Regions from separate parts of the Homo sapiens genome. Here region 1 is linked to region 2. Evidence: promoter capture Hi-C in 16 types of primary human blood cells and fetal thymus (Javierre and others, 2016). All regions are on one chromosome and are shown on one strand. The core of a region is centred on a gene start or on the middle of the fragment in contact, and the rest is flanking DNA. Distances in the headings are between cores, read along the strand shown.

Region 1 (5,281 bases), core at 354-2,853, 540 kb after region 2:
CTGAGAAGGCTGTGCAAGGCTGGGGAGCCTGCCTGGGCCTTGGGCTGCAGGGTAAGATGCAAGATGAACAGGGGTGGGGCTGAGACTCATGCTTAGGCGGACAGGATCAAGTATTGAAACCAGCCTAGGGAGTTCAAACTTGGTTTTGAGGCAATGGGATGTCATGAAAAGCTTAAGTGATTTTGGGGACTCCTAGTTTGTTTTGATAACATTTAATATTCTCAAAATCATTAATAATTTGATAACTTCAGGCATGGCTGATTTAATTTTTAAACTATGAAAATATGAAGTATGAAATTATGATTCTTATGGTAAAAAAGTTCAACGTGTACCTAAGAGCATACAATTTTAATTTCCCTTTTCCTACAACTTTTAATCCTACCTTTTACATTTATTTATTTATTTATTCTTAAATATAGACAAGGTCTTGCGATGTTGCTTAAGTCAGTACAGAACTCCTGGGCTCAAGTGGTCTTCCTGCCTGGGCCTCCTGAGTAGCTGGGATTATAGGCCTGAGTTACCATGCCCGGCTGTCTGTCCTACTTTTGAGCAGTAAATTGGTTTCTGTAGCTGTCTAATGCTTAAACTTTCCTGTGCGTTCAAATGTGTATTTCTGTCTTAATGTAGGTAAGGTCATACGCTATGTACTCCAACTTGCTACCCCCGCCCCCAGTATATACTTTATTTTGCTTATTTTTACAGTGTAAGAGTTACTCTCTTAAAGCTTAATTGTCATTTGTCATTGCCTTGTATAGAACCAAGGCATCTTGGACTGTGTACCAAATCCCATAAGATCTGGCCAGAACAGGGCCACGCCGTCCATACCTCCTTATCTTGTGCTTTGCTGCCACTTCCTTACTGTGTTTCAGCTTTAGCTGCCTGATATTCTTTCCCTATGAAATTGCTTCCTCATCTAGGATTTTTATATGTGTGGTTCCCTCTGTCTAATGTTCTTTCTCCCTGATCTTTCCATGGTAGCTAGCTGTTTATGTTTATGTGTGTGTGTGTATGCGTGTGTGTGTGTGTGTGTGTGTGTGTGTGTGTGTGTGTGTGGTTTTAGAGACGGAGTCTCACTTTATTTCCCAGGCAGGAGTGCAGTGGCGCCATCATGGCTCACTGCAGCTCTGACCTCCTGGGCTCATGCAATCCTCCTGCCTCAGCCTCCCAAGTAGCTGGGACTACAGGTCCCACCACCACACCCAGTAATTTTTGTATTTTTTTGTAGAGATAGAGATCTTGCCATGTTGCCCAGGCTAGTCTCAAACTCCTACCCTCAAGTGATCCTCCCATCTTGGCCTCCCAAAGTGCTGGGATTACAGGTGTGAGCCACTGTGCTTGGCCTGGCTAGATGTCTTTATCCTTAGGTTTAAAATTTTACTCCAGAAGGGCCCTTTCTGAGCAGCCTGTCTGAAACAAGTTCTCCCTAGTATTCTTGCCTGAGTACTCTGTTTCTATGTAACATTTATTTTAGTTATCAATTGATTTGTTTATTTTCTGTTTCTCTCATTAGTTTGTAATAAGCTCCATGAAGGCAGAAGATGTATTTCATGTAGTGTTGCTGGGCAGATAGTTATTGAATTAATGTATAAGTGGTTGAATAAGAACATATAGATCAACTGCATTCTTTTTAAAGGCTAATATTTCATTTTATGGATGTACCAGTCCTTTGTTGAAGGCTTACTAAATTGTTTTTCAGAATTTTTTTCTTATTAAAACACCACCAACGAATTCAAAATAATGAATTTCTTTGTATGTCTCTCTGTGTTCACTCATGTGGGTATATCTGTAGGATGACTTCCCAGGAGTAAAATTTCAGAACAAAAGATAACGTGTCCTCAAACTTTTGGTAGATACTGACAATTTCTTTTTAAAAAGATTATCCCATTTTCTATGACACCAGTAATATGAGAAGTATTTAACTTTGTCATCCTGGCCATTATCAGATTTTAATTTGCTAGAGGAAAAGTGAGATCTCATTGTTTTAATTTGTATTTCTGTAATTAGGAGCAAGGCTGAGCACAGATATTGTGCTTCTGGAACTGTTTTTCTGTGAGCTTTTAATTTAATCTTTTGTGATGATTGTTGGTCCTTTTTTTAGTTGATTCAGAGTTTGATTAAAGTTTTTTAAACTTATGATGTTATAGGCAACCTTTACAGTGTGATGTCACTTAGTGCCATTGAATTTGGAGCTATATAGGGCTTTTTATCTCTTCAAAAGTAATTTTGTAGAGCCTGATAATAAAACTTCATGTTCTCAAAGACCATATTGGGGCTGAGTGTATAATATTTAGTAGTTTATTATTGAAACAGTAATAGAGATTTTAATGTCCAGTGCATAATAGGTCCTCAGTAAAGTATTTTTGGATGAATGAGTGACAAGTGAAAAGTTAATTTTTAAGGCAGCTTGATTTTATTTGAAAGTTCATTTAGAAGAATCTAATTTTCATAGTAAGAAGACTTAGCATGCTGTTAAGTTGAAAGATAAGCTTGCTTTGTGGCATGCTATAGAAGTGTTGGATTTGTGGCAGTGGAATTTTTAATTTGCTGTGTCAGATATAGATATGGCTTTATGTATCCATACACACCCAGCTATAACATGTATATTCAAATAAGTGACAAAATATGTCTAATGAATTTTTGAATTACCTTTTAAAACTTGCCTGTTAGTTCTCTCAAGTGATGAACTTTTTACAATAGCAGTTTATTTTCTCTCATCACGTTGGAAAGAAATGTTAAAAGTTTTCTTCTAGGTTTATTATAATCCAGTCTTCATCAGCCATCACTCTTCCTGTATTTTGTTCAAGAGGCACTAATTGTTCGCATTTGGCAGGTTTAACACTTCCTGACAGAGAGGCTATTAAGGGGAAGTATTCTCCAATAACTGTCACTGGCTGGAACAAAGAACCTTCCAACTCAATGTGTGGAAACCACTAACATTCTTAAATGACCCTTTTCATGGATTTTCATCCCTTTAAGCTAAAGTTTGGAGAATGTAGGGTCAGCGAAAACAGCAACGTGTAATAAAGCAGTAAACCTTGATTTTGGAAGGCATAGGGTGGGAGATATAGATTTATCTCTGACTTGAAAACAATTGTTATTTGGAAAATCTCATTAGCAGATGTGACTGCTTGGAGTAAAAAAAAAAAAAAACAACTTAAAACTGATGTCGCTTTCAGGACCCCTTTGAACTTAACAAGCACCTATTTGTGGAGCAGACTGGCTAATGAAAGGAAATTAAATTTTTCTGACAACTTCCCCTGCCAACCTCCTTATTCAGGGGATGTTATTAGGTACTGAAGAACTTTAAAGAAGATTTTTTTTTATTAGACATAAGTGAACCAGTTATAAACATCCCCCCCCGCCCCCTTCTCGGAGGATTCTGACATGGTTGCTCTACATTTTAAACGTATTAGCTTAAAAGCTTAAAAAACACTGGGCTTCACTTCAGCATTTTAGTCATTTTCTAAAAATTCAGTCACACTTACCAGCTGTGGTTTCAAAACAATATTGTCAGTCTTTGTGGTAGTTTAGTTTGTGTCACTGAATTACACAAACACACACACACACACACACACCCCACACATACCCACACACACGAAGGAGGCTTAGATTTCAACATTATCTTTATTGTTATTTGGGGAAATGATTCAGCAGTGTCCTGTGTTGGATGTGTTAGGTGAGGGTTAATGATCAGTGAAATTACTTAGATTCAAGGGAAGTTTTTGTCTTTTCATCTTCTTAGAGGTAGAAGTGGCATTGGTTAATATTTAGCAATAACTAATCCTTAAATGGATAAACTTTTACCCCTTACTGTTTAGGAAGGTATTTTCTTTCTTTTGCTTTTTGGAGTTTTTTCCTCCAGTAGTTGGTTCGTTGAAATTAAAGTTTTTTTTTAATTTATGTAACAAGATACAATTGTAGAGATAAAATATGTACCTGAAAAAAAAAAAAAAGAAAGAAACAATAGAAAAGAAAAGGTAATGCAGATTACCAAAAGGATTTTTTGGAACAATTCGTAATTCCTGTAGGTACTGGAAATTAACTTTCATATTTCTGCAAAATCGATCAACTACTCCCAAACAATAGAGAATCAACTCCCCCTGCTGACAGAATCTAGGAAAACATGACACATAATATTGGACAGAAACAAGCTGGCTGCGGACAAGCTTTAATGACCTGATTTATGATTCAGTATTGATTGTAAACATCTAAATTCTGCCATTAAATTCCGGCAACTGCACCAAATCATTGGCAATTCTGGTAGTGCTTCCTGCCAGCTCATTTCAACTGCTTTGAGTTTCTTAATATAATAATGATGAGGTAGAATTTACATTCCACTTATGGTATTAATTTTACATTTCTCTGAATGAAAAGGGTTAGAAGGTAGTAAAATTGAACATTAAATGAATCGGAGGAGACAGTAGTGCAATATATGACTGCCCTAAAGACATTGTGCAATGCCTCATGGGATTAATGTTGAGTCTCATTTCCTGCTTTTACAGGATGCAGAAGAAGCTGTCAGAATTGCAAGGGAAATTGGTAAGTCCTTAAATTAACTTTGGTAGGATTTCTGTGTCTTTCAGCAGATACGGTTGAGTCAACAGGTAATAAGTAATTCCCATAGAGCAAATAATACTTTAATAGTTTTAGATTTTGATTACTTGTTGCTCTGGAAGAATGTATCAGTTGAATTGCCAAATTCTATTATTAAAGGAGACTGTAAAGAGTAATTTGACCTTAACTATACATAACTCTTTTGTAAGATGAGATCACAGGCTAATTCAAAGAAGGAATTGTCTTAAGAATTCTAAAGATTGGATATAAGTTTAATGTCAATTTATATGTACATAGTTGAATGTGGTTTGTTAAAATTAAGAACATTTGGATTAAAATGAAGATACCATATGTGACATAGTTCTTTAAGTTTTTGCCTTTTGCTAAGATGTTAGGTATCAACTTAATCTTGTTAGATGGGAAAGATAAAATAGATGTGGGAAATTAGAACTGAATGATCTAAATTGGAATAAAAGGTAGACTGGAGGAGTTTTTAATGGCTGTTTTACATGTACTTGTATTTGGGCAGTGTTTCCCAACTTTTTAATTTCTTTTCTTTTTCTTTTCTTTCCTTTTTTTTTTTTAAGATGGAGTTTTGCTGTCATTGCCCAGGCTGGAGTGCAATGGCACGATCTCCGCTCACTGCAACCTCTGCCTTCCAGGTTCAAGCGATTCTCCTGCCTCAGCCTCCCTAGTAGCTGGGATTACAGGTGCCTGCCATCACGCC
Region 2 (4,719 bases), core at 1,447-3,946:
TAGGGGCCGTTTTAGGTTATTTTAGCTCTTATGCTAAAACAGTGGGGGAGCGATTAAAAGTGAGAAAAATATTAGTATATATTTGTAAACTGAGCTTTTAAAATTAAAATAGTTGCAGGATATTACAGTCTGTGATTTCATATACTTTGTAAGATTGCCTTAAATGTATTGCCTTCTTGGCAGCATAATGCCAGATTTTTCTCCAATATGTCATTAAAATAATTTTACATATAACAAGTTGAACTTTTTAAAGACTTATATTTTAATCTGAATTAGCATATTTACTAATTATATTACTTATTTGGCTTTTCTTTAGTCCGATTCTTTTTTTTTTTTTAGTGTACAAACTTGGCATTACTCTTTAAGAATAACAAGTGAACTGGAAATGAGAGGGTGGTGACATGAAGAGAGAGAGAAGAAATACATTCCTTATATCTCTTCCAGCTCCTGCATGGAATGGAGGATCTGACAGTGGCCGTTCCTGGGTATTAAAGCCAGTGCAAAAGATAGAGCGTCCAAAAGGCAACTTCTTCCTTATTTGTGAAGTCAGAAAGTAAAATTTACATTGAAGTGCTAAGCTACATTATTCTGAATATTTTGGCAGTCATATTTGGGCAGATGAGTTGCTTTCCTGAAATTACTCAGCACCGTCATTCATCCTGACAAAAGCTAGTGGTACAGATGCACCTTTGGGACTGAGGCCAAGGTGAAACCTGCGTTTTCCAGGTCTGCCCACTCAGTTTTGGAAGGACTCTCAATAAAACCGGCCTCACACCCCAAGCATCACCCCTCCTGTCCTTAGTAAGTACACTCTGGCTGGAATCTAGGGTCCCAGCATCTAGCCCTTGGGACTTCACATAAATTCATCAAGTATCTTCCTCCACTCAAAAATCTCTTACAGAATCTTTGACATTTTAAGCTTCATTACTGCAAAGTGGATATAGTTCATTCTCAGCTTCAGGATTCCAGAAGCATACATACCAGGTCAGAATGGAGAGGCATCACGCTTTCCTTCAGCAAGCTTCAGGGGAGACAGGATTTAGGGTGGGCTACACATATACCAGTTGTAGGATGTTTTGAACTATATTCTTGCAATCACAGACAGGTTGTCCCAGAGAAAATAATCTGGCTCTAACTTCTCTTGTTATCAGTGAAAAGCAAAAATTACTTAGTGCAGGTATGCTTAAAGGAAGAAAAAGGCAAGAGAAAAGTGAGAGGTAAAAATTATTACCATTTTAATTCCATGATTCTCAGCAATGAAGGAGCATGATTGAAATCCCATGTGCCCAGTCATATCTGTAAATGAGAGTATGATTTTTGAAGACTGTATTCAATTGTTTCAACTTGAGCAATTGCAAGTAAGACTTAGGACTGTGTTTACCAGTTACTGTTATTTACTATTACTTTCTAAATGTGACCTGACTTGAAACCTTTATAGATGCAATTTTTATCCATCACAGAACAAGCTCTAAAGAGGAGAGCAGCTTCAACTTTTTCAAGTATTTTTTTTAAAAGGATTTAACTTTGACCAACACCAAACTTGCATCTTGTTAAGGTAACTAATAACTGACTGCTATAACAATATTTAGAATTTTGTTTAACAGCAACTGTCAAAAAAACAAGTTAAAATAGCCCAGGAGATGGATGGCGATTAACTCTGCGTTCTTTTTAGACTGTGTTATTAATTAGCTCTCTAGACTCAAATAGGTTACATCCTCTGAGCAGTAAATTGCATGCCATTTGCAAGCTCTGTGGATGAAATTTACATGTGGCCTAAATGCTATCCACATTGTTTTGTTAAGTAGCATTTTATCTCTCTGGACTGGTCCCTTGCCTCCTCCCCCAGCCCCAGTGGAAAGTTTTATTCACTTTTCTTGCGGGAAGGGAAAGTCGCATGTAGTTTGGTCATTTGGCGCCATCTTCTTTTTTATTGTTAAATCCACTAAAGGCAGTCATGCCTGGCAGTACCAGGCGGGCTCCTTCCGGGGTTCTGGTCGGCTAAGCATTCAGAGTTCTTTGCTTTTTATTTACTAGAAATGTTTTCAGCTTCTGTCTTTGCTTTAAGATCTGATTAAAAGGAACCTTAAAAAAGGAACATAGATTTTGGTGTATGTTTTTCCTCTCTACTTCTCTTCCCTGTGCCCCCCAAACCCAATCACCAACTTCCCCCATCCCCAGCAAACACGGGCTTTTTTGTGTATTTATTTAAAAGCATTTTAGGAAGCACCGTAATACCGCACAGCTTGGAGGTTAAGATAGAATTGGATGTTTCCCTCACCATCAGTTGATGGAATCATCAGTGTTCCGGTTCTATTTATCTTCATGATTTGAGAATGTTTCTGAACAGCTGCCCTTCCGAGGATGCTGGTATTTAGACAGACCTTCCTGTCATTTATCTGACTCACAGGCACAACTCTTTTGAAAGAATTAATATCAAACTTACATATGAAAATCTACCATTTAGAAATGGATTCTTTTTCAGTACCTACTTTTCAATTCAACCGGGGAGATCCCATCTATTTTAAAAAATCATTAATCACATACTTCTGACATTTTCCCTTTCAGTTTCCTCAGGGGGAAAAAAGTTATTTGAATAACAAACAAACAAACAAAAACCCCTCATCGCAAATAGCTGTCAGCCTCCTATGTGAACAAAAGCGCTCTCTCACACTGAGACCTACCGTGTTTTGTTTAGTTAGAGGCAGCAGGGTGGTAGGGACACTATGCAGAAAGGCTTGGGTTAATGAGCACTTTCTGGATTGAGTGTCTCTCCTGATTAACCCTTGGATTACTTGCTTTGAGTTGCTAACCCTCTCTCACTGCCCACTCAAGAATTTCCCACATGGTAGCCTCATCCATAGATGCCCTTCCCTAGATGCACTGATGGTAGACAGCATAAAAATGTGTAAGCACTGTAGCTTTCCAATGAACTGAAACAAAAAGCTTAAGCATTACTTTTTATTTCCTTGATCTAAAGAACATGTTTTGGGGGATATTTTCTTAATCAATATCTAAGTTATCTAGAGTTATAAATACTATAAATAAATTAGTTACAAACTAATTTTTAGACACAAGTCTTTTGTTCAAACCAACTCTTACATAGAAACTCTAAAAATTTGGGGGGGAAGGGGACAGTTGGGGATCAGAATCACTCCCCATTATCTCTCTGTTGGTGCTCCCCAAAGGATCTTCAGGGAACGACGTTTAAAAACCATTTTGTATCATGAAATGGGACCCGAAAGACATTCTTTCTAGTGACTTTGTGTTAGATTGAGTCATATGAAATTGCCACTGTGTGACCCATTTTGACCTAAAAAAAAAACCAAAAAACAAAAAACAAAAAACCAGCACTAGGGTACCAGAGTATTTTTAGTGTAATCACTGTACGTGATAAGAAAATGGAGAAATGAGAAAGCTTGAAACTTAGACTATAAGCTCCTCATAAGCTAATAGCGACTTCCTCCCTTCTTCCGCAGTCACCTGGCAAGTCCCTTCTATGTGCTGCTGGTTCTAGGGATACAGAGATAAAAGGCGTAGTCACTGCCTCCAAATCATCACAGTGCAAAGGACAAATAAATACAGAAGGACCCATGGGATGAAGAAACAGCCCAGGGTGGTGGGAACACAGAGCGAGAGTTTCTAGGATCTTGAAAGCCATGTTGCACGGAGCTCCCGGTCCCTGAGTTTTCAGACTGATCTTTCTGTGGACTGTGCCTAAGTAATAACAGTTTCAGAACGTAGAAACTCAGTGTACATCCTTCATAGCCAGGATGGATATGATAGCCTGGAAGTGAACAGTAAATCCAGTGATTTGTTTTCTTCACTCATTCTTTCATTTTAAGAAAGTGCTTAGAATCCACAAGTTGTGCTTAATGCCAGCAGACGCATTACATATGCCAGCCCTGCCCCTTAGTCACAATTACTCCCCACACTGACCTCCCATTGCATTTAAAAATTGTCGCTTTATTGAGACATAGTTCAGCTCTCATAAAGTTCACATTTGTTTTTTTTGTTTTTTTTTTTTTGTTTGTTTTTTTGAGACAGTCTTGCTCAGTCACCCAGGCTGGAGTGCAGTGGCATGATCTCGGCTCACTGCAAGCTCCGCCTCCCGGGTTCACGCCATTCCCCGGCCTCAGCCTCCCTAGTAGCTGAGACTACAGGCACCCGCCATCACGCCCGGTTAATTTTTTTGAACTTTTAGTAGAGACGGGGTTTCACCATGTTAGCCAGGATGGTCTTGATCTCCTGACCTTATGATCCACCCGCCTCACCCTCCCAAAGTGCTGGGATTACAGGTGTGAGCTACCGCCTCCAGCCATAAAGTTCACATTTTTAAAGGACACACGTCAGTGGTTTTCAGTCTCTTCACAAAGTTGTGTAATGATCATCACTATCTAATTCTAGAACATTTTCCTTACCCTAAAAGAAACCCCATACCCATTGGGGTTCACTCCCTATGCACCCCTCTTCCTTTCTCCTGACAACCACTAATCTACTTTCTAAATCTATAGATTTGTCTGTTCGGGACATTTCCTATAAATGGGACTATATAAATATGCCCTTTTATCTCTGGCTTCCTTCACTCTGCATAATGTTTTCAAGGTTTGTCCATGTTGTAGCATGCATTAGTACTTCATTCCTTTTTCTGGCCCAGTAATGTTCAATTGTAGGAATATACCCCATTATCCATTCCAATGATGGATATTTTTTGGGGGATAT

What was found. Contacts are between HindIII fragments. The CHiCAGO score rates a contact against its expected background, and 5 or more counts as called.
Region 1: a fragment that was not itself captured here is called in contact with the fragment with the promoter of CLYBL-AS2 in region 2 in 2 of 17 cell types (megakaryocytes and naive CD8 T cells); the score reaches 7.3 in megakaryocytes.

What each region holds. Positions count from the first base shown.
Region 1 is chr13:100,231,340-100,236,620 of GRCh38, forward strand. PCCA (propionyl-CoA carboxylase subunit alpha) reads left to right here. Exons shown (of 24, transcript NM_000282.4): 8 at 4,503-4,539. Among named protein-coding and RNA genes, the nearest start is that of PCCA, 140 kb to the left of the region's middle. The HindIII fragment of the contact is 1,762 bases long and covers 723-2,484 here.
Region 2 is chr13:99,688,275-99,692,993 of GRCh38, forward strand. It overlaps CLYBL-AS2 (CLYBL antisense RNA 2), which reads right to left and starts at 2,697. Exons shown (of 2, transcript NR_046526.1): 1 at 2,279-2,697; 2 at 1,824-2,082. The region is part of intron 1 of CLYBL (citramalyl-CoA lyase); the gene reads left to right. LOC124903199 (a long non-coding RNA gene) reads left to right here. Exons shown (of 2, transcript XR_007063848.1): 2 at 340-2,095. RefSeq lists a silencer at 2,541-2,835 and an enhancer at 3,876-4,633. The HindIII fragment of the contact is 1,922 bases long and covers 1,020-2,941 here.